Regions from separate parts of the Homo sapiens genome. Here all the other regions are linked to region 3. Evidence: promoter capture Hi-C in human tissues and cell types (Jung and others, 2019). All regions are on one chromosome and are shown on one strand. Each heading gives the region's core, a stretch centred on a gene start or on the middle of the fragment in contact. The rest is flanking DNA. Distances are from core to core; before and after follow the strand shown. Region 1 has its middle 40 kb from the start of SNX10. Region 2 overlaps SNX10 (sorting nexin 10). Region 3 holds the start of SNX10 (sorting nexin 10).

Evidence for each region. The method cuts DNA at HindIII sites, captures the fragments that hold promoters and counts their contacts. A contact is called where the count stands out against the background at its distance.
Region 1: a contact is called between a fragment that was not itself captured here and the fragment with the promoter of SNX10 in region 3, in 3 of the 25 tissues and cell types used here (liver, ovary and pancreas).
Region 2: a contact is called between a fragment that was not itself captured here and the fragment with the promoter of SNX10 in region 3, in 2 of the 25 tissues and cell types used here (liver and thymus).

The regions. Positions count from the first base shown.
Region 1 is chr7:26,250,500-26,254,098 of GRCh38, reverse strand. No RefSeq gene overlaps it. Among named protein-coding and RNA genes, the nearest start is that of SNX10, 40 kb to the left of the region's middle. The HindIII fragment of the contact is 6,320 bases long and covers 1-3,599 here.
Region 2 is chr7:26,337,171-26,340,491 of GRCh38, reverse strand. The region is part of intron 1 of SNX10 (sorting nexin 10); the gene reads right to left. Among named protein-coding and RNA genes, the nearest start is that of SNX10, 47 kb to the right of the region's middle. The HindIII fragment of the contact is 7,680 bases long and covers 1-3,321 here.
Region 3 is chr7:26,290,565-26,294,194 of GRCh38, reverse strand. SNX10 (sorting nexin 10) reads right to left here and starts at 2,333. Exons shown (of 7, transcript NM_013322.3): 1 at 2,109-2,333. RefSeq lists an enhancer at 299-348 and silencers at 1,840-1,919, 2,070-2,309. The HindIII fragment of the contact is 12,028 bases long and covers 1-3,630 here.

The DNA.
Region 1 (3,599 bases), core at 135-2,634, 39 kb after region 3:
CTTGCACATCTTTTATTAAATTTATTAGTAGGTTCTCTATTTTGCTCTTGTTACTGATATCATTTGGGATATTATATTTTCTTTGAGGCTGATGAATCTAAAATGTAATTGAATTTTGTGTATTGACTTTATATCCAGCTATCTTACTAAGCTTATTAACTATAATAATTTGTCTAAAGGATTTTGAGTTTTCTATGTAAACATTTATATCATCTCTGAATAAAACCAGTTTTGTTTCTTCCTTTTCACTCCTAATACCTGCCCACCTCCCTTTTCTCCTTCTCCTCTCCTTTCCTTCCTCCCTCCCTTTCTTGTCTTACTGCATTGGTTACAAGCTCTAGAAATGAGAACAGTGAGCATCCTCTTCTTGATCCTGGTTTTTAAAGAGAAAGTTTCTAAAGTTTTACTAAGAATGATGTTTACTATAGGTTTTTGTAGATAGTCTTTATTTGGCTAACAAGAATTGCTCTCTAGTCTTGGTTTGCTAAGGGTTTTTCCATAAACGCTTTTCCTACAACTATTGAGAATGTGTTTTTTTCTTTAATCTATTAATGTAATAAATTACATTTACAAAAATTTTTAGTGTTAGATGAAATATATTTCAGGGATAAAGTGAACTTAAGTTGTAGTATCTTTTCTATGTTTTGTTGCATTCAGTTTTGAAACTAAACAAAAACTAATATTTTGTTTAGTTTCACACCTATGTTTACGAGTGGGATTAGTCTGTAATTTTCATTTTTTATATTATCCATATCTAGTTTAGGTATCAAGATCACACTAGCCTCATAGACTAAATTGAGGACTGTTTCTTCTTTTTATATCCTTTGGAAGCCTTGTATTAAATTGGAATTATCTGTTCCTTGAAAGGTTAGAAAAATTTTCTTGTAGGCATGGTGATTTATTTTTAAACATTATCTTAATTTTTTATTTTTAAATAATTTCAGCTTATAGAAAACTTACAAGTACACTACAAAGAACTCCCATAAAATTTTCATTCAGATGACCCAATTATTGACGTTCTATCACATTTGTCTTATTATTCTATCTCTCTCTCAAGACACATACACACACAAATGCTTTTTTTTTTTTTTTTTTTTTTTTTTGAGATGGAGTTTCGCTCTTGTTGCCCAGGCTGGAGTGCAATGGCGTGCTCTTGGCTCACCACAACCTCCGCTTCCCGGGTTCAAGTGAATCTCCTGCCTCAGCCTCCCAAGTAGCTGGGATTACAGGCATGTGCCACCATGCCCGGCTAATTTTGTATTTTTAGTAGAAACCAGGTTTCTCCATGTTGGTCAGGCTGGTCTTGAACTCCCGACCTCAGGTGATCCGCCCATCTCGGCCTCCCAAAGTGCTGGGATTACAGGCATGAGCCACTGCGCCTGGCCACACAGTTTTTTTTTTTTTTCTCTCTCTCTTTTTTTAAATAGAGATGGGGTCTCACTGTGTTACCCAGGATGGTCTTGAACTTCTGGGCTCAAGCTATCCTCCCACCTTGGCCTCTCAAAGTACTAGGATTACAGGCATGAGCCACTGAGCCCAGACTCTATTTTTCTGAACACTTTTAGAATAAATTGAGGATATGAAGTTCCATTACCCCGTAATACTTTCAGTGCATATTTCCTAAAATGAAAACCACTCTCCTAATTAACCACGTAATACTCACAAAATAAAGAAATAAACATATATATACACATATATATATACATATATATATATTTTGTTTGTTTGTTTTTTGTTTTTTTTTTTTGAGACGGAGTCTCGCTGTCGCCCAGGCTGGAGTGCAGTGGCGCGATCTCGGCTCACTGCAGGCTCCACCCCCTGGGGTTCACGCCATTCTCTTGACTCAGCCTCCGGAGTAGCTGGGACTACAGGCGCCCGCCACCTCGCCCGGCTAATTTTTGTATTTTTAGTAGAGACGGGGTTTCACCGTGTTAGCCAGGATGGTCTCCATTTCCTGACCTCGTGATCTGCCCGCCTCGGCCTCCCAAAGTGCTAGGATTACAGGCGTGAGCCACTGCGCCCGGCCAGATATTACATTTTCATTTATCCACAGAACTCATTCAAATTTCACCAGTCATCCTAATGATGTCATTTATAGGTCTGGGGTCCAATCCAAGGTTGAATTGCACGTACTTATTCTGCCTCTTTAGTCTTTCCAATTTGGCACAGTTCCTCAGGCTTTCATGTCTTTCATGACCTTGACATTTTTAAAAAGAACAGTTTAGTTATATTGTAGATTGTTCTGAAATTTAGGCTTACCTGATAATTTCTTATGATTAGATTCAATCTATGCATTTTTGGCGAAAAACACACAGTGATAGGTTTTCCTGCCACACATCAGAAAGCACATAGTGATTTGTCCCATTACTGTTTTTGTTGTTTTTTTTTTTTTGAGACTGAGTCTCACTCTTATTGCCCAGGCTGGAGTGCAATGGCATGATCTTGGCTCACTGCAACCTCCGCCTCCGGGGTTCAAGTGATTCTCCTGCCTCAGCGGCATGAGTAGCTGGGATTACAGGCACCTGCCGCCAAGCCTGGCTAATTTTTGTATTTTTAGTAGAGACGGGGTTTCACCATGTTGGCCAGGCTGGTCTCGAACTCCTGACCTCAGGTGATCTCCCCACCTCAGCCTCCCAAAGTGCTGGGATTACAGGCATGAGCCACCGCGCCCAGCTGTGACATTAACTTTTATCCATTGGTTTAGATAATGTCTCTCTTTTTTCATCACTGTAAGTGAAACAGTATTTTGTACTATTAATAATAAATGATTATTTTTGTGATACTTTAGACTACATAAATGTCCTGTTCCTCATCCAATTTATATCCACAAATTTCAGGATTTATTGGTGATTCCTGTCTGAATCATTTATTATTATTATGGTGGTTGCCAATTGGTGATTTTTTTTCTATTCTTTTCTTTTTCTAGAGACAGGGTCTCACTCTCTTGCACAGGCCGAAGTGCAGTGGTGTGATTATAGCTCACTGCGGCCTCCAATCTCTGGGCTCAAGCAATGCTCCCACCTCAGCCTCCCAAGTAGCTGGGAGAACAGTCGTGCACCATTGCCATGATCTCTTCTTATAAAGCCACTAGGTCCCTTCCCATGATAATCCATTAATCTGTGAATGAACTAATCCATTCACGAGGGCAGAGCTCTCATGATCCAATCATCTCTTAAAGGCCCCACCTCTAAATACTGCCAATATTGCCAGATTGAGGACCTTTCTTTTTTCTTTCTCTTTCTTTCTCTCTCTTTATTTCCTTTCCTTTCCTTTTTTTGTTTCTTTTTTTTTTTTTTTTTTTTGAGAACAGGACCTCACTGTTGCCCAGGCTGGAATGCAGTGGTGCGATCTCGGGTCACTGCAACCTCCGCCTCCCAGGTTCAAGCAATTCTCCCACCTCAGCCTCCCCAGTAGCTGGGAATACAGGCTACTGTATAATTTTTTATATTTTTGGTAGAGATGGGGTTTCACCATATTGGGTAGGCTGGTCTCGAACTCCTGACCATAAGGTTCTTGTATTGGTTCGAACCCTGAAAGTATGCCAATAGACAACACGAGGCGGTGTGGAGCAACATGCTGTTTTAATGAGCGCCTGGGTG
Region 2 (3,321 bases), core at 390-2,889, 47 kb before region 3:
TCTATGAAGCAAAGATAAAATTCTATAAAGTACCACTTGGCAATCTTTTTCTGTAGAGGGTCAGATAGTAAATATTTGAGGTTTTGTAGGCCACAGGGTCTCTGCATCTCCTACTCAAGTCTGCAGTGCATAGTGAAAAGGCACTCACAGATGCCTAACTGAATGAACATGGCTGGGTTCCAGTTAAACTTTATCTACAAAAACTGGTGGCAGTAGTTTGCAGACCCCTACTACAGAGCAAGCCATTACTGTGCCTTCAGTACTTATATATACTATACCTTAATAATACCTTTCTGAGGTCAACAGGCCAAAACATTTGCAATGCTAGGCTTGGTCTATATGCCTATGGGAGATCTCACTGACAAGTAAACTACTGACCAAAAGTTTGTGGACTATACATGTAAGGAGTGAGAAAGGATCACATATTTTTTCAAATGATGAAATAAGGAATAACAAGTATGGTTTATATCATTATTTAAAAAAAAAACGGCAAAGACTTTTTCTAAATCTTTAGATCAGGTGCTCCCTGATTCATGAATCACTAATAAAAGCCAATTTAATTTTTAAACAAAATTTTTTGTAACTTTTTCTTTTGGCAAGATCAAAGTCTCAGAACCAACTATTTAAAAAAAAAAAAAAAAGATCGGCCAGGTGGGGTGACTCACGCCTGTAATCCCAGTACTTTGGGAGGCCAAGGCAGGTGGATCACAAGGTCAGGAGTTCGAGACTCCACCCTGGCCAATATGGTGAAACCCCGTCTCTACTAAAAATAGAAAAATTAGCCAGGCATGGTGGCAGGCGCCTGTAATCCCAGCTACCCTGTAATTCCAGCTACTCGGGAGGCTGAGGCAGGAGAATCGCTTAAACTTGGGAGGCAGAGGTTACAGTGAGCCGAGATCATGCCACTGCACTCCAACCTGGGTGAGTGAGACTCTGTCAAAAAAAAAAGAAAAAAAAAAAAGATCAAGCTCAACAACAACAAACAAAAACAAAGAAAAAAACCCTAAATGCCTGACTTCACCACTGTGCAACCTGGCATGTAAGAAAATTGCACTTGAACCCCATAAATTTATACAAATAAAAAATCCGATTTAAAAAATATGCAAGACCGGGCACATGCCTGTAATCCCAGCACTTTGGGATGCTGAGGTGGGAGGATCACTTGACCTCAAAGTTTGAGACCAGTCTGGGCGGCATGGCGAAATCCTGAAACCGCCTTTGCAAAATTATAACTGAGGAAATTATGGCAGTGAAAGAAATCAGACCTAACCGACTCCATCTTGCTTCTAACGCTTAAGATGTCCTTATTCATTCCTGGGCATAAGCTGAACTAACTTCGGGAAGGAATTCAGTTCATGGTTTGACTCTGAAACAAAACTGGTAACAGCCCTTTCCCGAAAAGACCCCTTTCTTGCCTGGGGTCCAGTCTGCCTTTGCAGAACTAACAAATTAGCTACAAGATTAGAAATTACAATTTAGGGGCCATGTAGTCTCTGGCTCCAAGGGTCTGAACCTTCCTAAATTGCTCCTGGGGATAACATCGTTATTGCAAAACCTAAGATCCATGCTTTAGATACTTTGCAGACCCTGCAACTGCACTGGAAGGATCAGCTGATATCACCCAGAGTGGTAATCTGGCTCAAGCAGTTCTGCCATCCCACCCAGGCACAGAAGACAGGAAGAAAACCTCATTTTGACCCCCCTACGATTCCATCTCCAACCTGACCAATCAGCACTCCCTACTTCCTAAGCTCCTACCCGCCAAATTGTCTTTAAAAACTCTAATCCGGCCGGGCCCAGTGGCTCACACCTGTAATCCCAGCACTTTGGGAGGCCGAGGTGGGCGGATCACGAGGTCAGGAGATCGAGACCATCCTGGCTAACAACACGGTGAAACCCCGTCTCTACTAAAAATACAAAAAATTAGCCAGGTGTGGTGGCGGGCGCCTGTAGTCCCAGCTACTCGGGAGGCTGACGTAGGAGAATGGCGTGAACCAAGATCACGCCACTGCACTCCAGGCCTGGGCAACAGAGCGAGATGCAGTCTCAAAACAACAGCAACAACGCTGGTCTCCCACACAGCGGGGTCTGCGTAAATTACTCTCTCGCCGTTTCAATTCCCGTCTTTATAAATTGGCTCTGTCTAGGCAGTGGGCAAGGTGAACTCATTGGGAAGTTACTATCCCACCTCTACAAAATACACAAAAATTAGCCAGACATGGTGGCATGTGCCTGAAATCCAGGCCACTCGGGAGGCTGGTGTTGTAGGGCTGCTTGAGCCAGGGAGGCAGAGGCTGCAGTGAGCCAAGACCATGCCACTGCACTCCAGCCTGGGTGACAGAGTAAGACTCTGTCTCACAGAAAAAAAAAAAAAAAAAAAAGGACAAAGGAATTGATAGACGTTTCTCCAAAGATGACGTGCAAAGGGCCAATAAACATATGAAAACATGCTCAACATCACTAATCCACAATGAGAAATTAACTCACACCCGTTAGGATAGATCCAAGAAACAAAAAACCAAAAAAGCATTGAGGAGGATATGGAGAAATCGGAACCCTTCTGTTGGCAGCAATGTAAAATGGTGCAGCTGCTATAGAAAACAGTATAGCAGTTCCTCAAAAAATTACAGAAAACTACCACATGATCCAGGAATTCCACTTCCAGATATCCATCCAAAAGAGCTGAAAGCAGGCTCTCAAAGAGCTATTTGTGGGTCCACATCCACAGCAGTATTATTCACAATAGCCAAGAGGTGGAAGTAACCTAAGTGTCCATCAATGAAATGTAATGGATGAGCAAAATGTGGTCTCTCCATACAATGGGTACCATTCAACCTTAAAAGGGAAGGAAATTCTGCCACATGCTACAAAAGAGGACGAACCTTAAGGACATTATGCTAAATGAAATAATCCAATCATAAAAAGACAAATCCTTTATTATTCCACTTACATGAGGTTTTCAAGGAAATTAAATTGATAAAGACAAAGTAGAATGGTGGTTGCCAAGGGCTAGAGGAAAGGGTGAAAGGAGCATTTAAGGGGGAAATGGAACATTCTTGTTTACTGATACAGAGTTTCACTTCTGTGAATGAAAAAGATCTAGAGATCTATTGTACAACAATGTGAATACACTTAACGCTACTGAAGTGTACATTTAAAAAGTGGTAAGGTCTATACACTAGTATGGTGTAGACCATGTGAAAAAAATAATAAAAATGGGTAAGATTGCAAATTTCATGTGTTTCTTACCACAATTAAAAATAAAGTTTTTGAAAGAAGGTCAATAATCTACTTAAATGTTTCATCTTGCTATTAACAGAA
Region 3 (3,630 bases), core at 1,084-3,583:
AACAATGCTAAATTTGGGGGATTCCCCACAGAGTCAACCATGAGCTTGGCCAAAAGCCCTTCTCCGCCATGCTAGGAAATGAAAATCTGCATAGACTGGCCCCTGTTCTCAACCAGTTGTCTGCCTTTCACCAAGTGGTTGTGAAACCACAGCCCTGTCACTAAAAACGGAAAAAAGAAGTTATTTTCCCCAGTAACTTAACGAGCAAAATGAAGCCTTAAAATGAAAGTAGTGATCCTAGGGCTGAGAAAAGATATCCACTGCTCCAAAGCCCAGCAGAATTGCTGTAGAACACCAACGTTACTCTTTGATTAACATACTTTTATTTTTTTTAATGAACGTGCTTATTTCTATTACTTTAGGTTACCTAACTCAGGGGTCCTTCCCATTAGTAAAATAAGAGGAAGTGTGTACCAGCCTGGAGGGGAGACTCCCTGGTGGGGCACAGTGTCAGCCTGAGCAAGTCCCACTGTCAACACTGATGTCCTCCCCAGTTAAATGGTAATCAAAAGTGAGAATGAAATGGACTGGTAGAAGAAACAGGACGACCAGTTGAGTCCATGCTAATCACTGATATTTCACATCTTCACACAGTTTCTTCTAAATGTATTTTATTTTTGTATTTTTATTAAAAACTGCCCTATCAGTCAATCTCAAGTCTACCCTTCCTTTAAAAAATAGTAATAAAAGGCCGAGCGCAGTGGCTCACCCCTGTAATCCTAGCACTTTGGGAGGCCGAGGCAGGTGGATTGCTTGAGCTCAGGACTTCCAGACCTGCCTGGGGCAACATGGCAAAACCCTGTCTCTACAAAAAAAATACCGAAGTTAGCCAGGGGTGTGGTGGCCCGCACCTGTGGTCTCAGCTACTAGGGAGGCTGAGGTGGGAGGATCACTGAAGCCTGGGAGGTGGAGTTTGCAGTGAGCCAAGATCGCACCACTGCAATCCAGCCTGGGTGACAGAATAATACCTTGTCTCAAAAGAAAAAGAAAAAAGTAAATAATATTAAGAATAATGAAGGTCCAGCTATGTACCTACCTTAGGAATAGGCATCACTGGAAGTGATGGCAGAGGCAAGGCAGGAGTCCCTGACCTCACCTCCATTCTCTCACTGAGGAGCCCCTGCAGAAGCTGGTCAACTATCCAAGCAGTCCCTGCTTCTTCCTGGCGAAGGCCTCAGCCTCCAGCCCAGCCCCCTCCTGGGAGAGGAGGGGGAGCTTATGCAATCCAAACCCAGTTCCCAGGCCCCAGAGGTGGACATAACTCCGGGGTGGAAGTCAGAAGCCTGCCAGGTTGTAGGCCTGGTTCTGCTCCCATCTGGCTGAATGATCCTGGTCCCAACACTCAGCGTCCCTCGGCCTTAGCCTCCCTGTCTGTAAAATGAAAGGTTTGATGGAGATCATGTGCAAGCCTCCTCCCCGTTCTAATTTTCTGATACCATCATTTTTAACGTGTCTTGTAGAGATAGAAGCCCTTCCTTTCAGCAGGACATGTTGCTCCCCATTCCGTGACGATCCCCCTCAATAATCCGTGTAATTTGAGAAAAGTATGATGCATCGGAACTGAAAAACAGGCTGTTGCTTTCCTGGTCACCAAATCTGATAATCAGTCAATTATATGGATTTTCCCCTGGGCCTTCTCCCTCAATCCCACAATCCCACGAATAAACCTGCCTACCCCTCCCAATTCCTCAACTCAAGGCTACCCGTTAATGAATGAATAAAAAAATAAATAAATAAATTTTAAAAACCACCTCCCCACCCCCTTCTACCCGGCCTGGTGTAAGGTGCCACAGCACTTCTTCCGTAATCTAGAATCCACCTCTGCCCCACCCTCTCCCCGGGGTGTCTTTTTAGCCAAGAATCCCTGGATCGACGCGCTCCATCTCCCCGCTCTACCGCGCTGATCATTTCTCCCTGCCCGGCACACCTCGGCTGAAAAGGAGGCGGCTCCTCTGCTCCAAGCCCAAGGGACCCAAACCTCTTTCCAGCCCGCAAGGGTGCGGGCACCTGGGAACAGCGGGAAGGGCCCGCGCCTCTGGAAAGAAGGGCCGCCGTCCCCACCTGGGCGGTGCAGGGGAGGCCCCCTCAGCGGGTCTCTTGTCACTTACGGGCGGCTCCTCCGGGCAGAACAGAGCAGGGCCGGGCCGAGCCGGGCTTGCGGGCCGCGGAGTTTGCTGACTCAAAGGCGCGCGGCGGCAGCGGCGGCGGCGAGCGCCCAGGAGCGCACACGAGCGCAGCCCCGCGCTCCCCGCGCTCCCCGCGCTCCCCGCGCACGTAGCGGCCCCGCGCCCGCGCTCAGCGCCAGCCGTCCGCCTGTGGGCGCCGCGCCTAGTGCTTCCGCCGCCTCCGCGCAGCCCAGCCCAGGTGCGCCCCCACCCTGCAGAGCTAGCCTCCTGCTTCCTGAAATTGAGTTAGGGAGGAAATGCCCCCATTAGTCCGGACGTTGAGGCTGGAGGTGCTCCAGCGGCACCCTTCGGAATTCGCCACCTGAGTCACCTTAAGCTTCCTAACCCTGACCCCACAGTTATGGGGAGGATTGCCGATGGGGAGGAGGACGGATAAATAACGTGATAAACAAGAATGGCAGAATGTTCATAGCATCTAGGTGGTGGGCTATGGTGTTTATATAAAATTATTTCAGTTTTTGTCTATGTTTGAAATGTCTCAATAAAACATTTGGGGGGAAAGCTAATGAGATCTGCCAAGGGACCTGACTGAGGAAAGCATTTCCCAAATGGCACCTGAGGCTGGGTCCCCACACCTGTTTGCATGGGAAACCACAATCATCACTTAAACTGCTAATAAGTGACTGAATGACACAGAATAATAAGCATAGCCTAATATTTCATTTTTCAAGCATGAATTTTCCCATTAGATACAGCTTGTCGCTGATCATCCTCCAGGGACCATTCCAGGCCCACCTGAAAACGCATCTGTTCACCACACCTACATTAACTCCCTAACAAAACGTATAAATATACAATGTTGTGTCTTAACATCTTGGATCTTGAAGTTGTATTGCTGAACCCTCAATCACTGGTATTTAATTTCCTAAAATTGCACCCAAGTCATGACACACAAGTGAATGCAACCATGATCACTTTTGAAAATCAAATTAAGCTGGTGTGGTGGCTCACGCTTGTAATCCCAGCACTCTGGGAGGCCGAGGCGGGTGGATTACAAGGTCAGGAGATGGAGACCATCCTGGCTGACATGGTGAAATGCCGTCTCTACTAAAAATACAAAAACTTAGCTGGGCGTGGTGGCGCGCGCCTGTAATCCCAGCTACTCGGGAGGCTGAGGCAGGAGAATAGCTTGAACCCGGGAGGCAGAGGTTGCAGTGAGCCGAGATCATGCCATTGCACTCCAGCCTGGGCGACAGAGCAAGATTCTGTCTCAAAAAAAAAAGAAAGAAAATCAAATTAAAGTGTATTTTTTATATTCTTGTCCCTATGCTCCGCAAAGAAAAACATTGAGTAGAAAACAAAATGCAGCATGTATCTAAGATCCTAAGAGATTCTGTAAAATTAAAATCTTTCTGAACTTATTGTCAAGAGCATGACTTTACAGCTGTAGACAAAGCAGCAACAAACCCTTGGAGAGTCTACTGAAAGTCATTTGAATATCTGT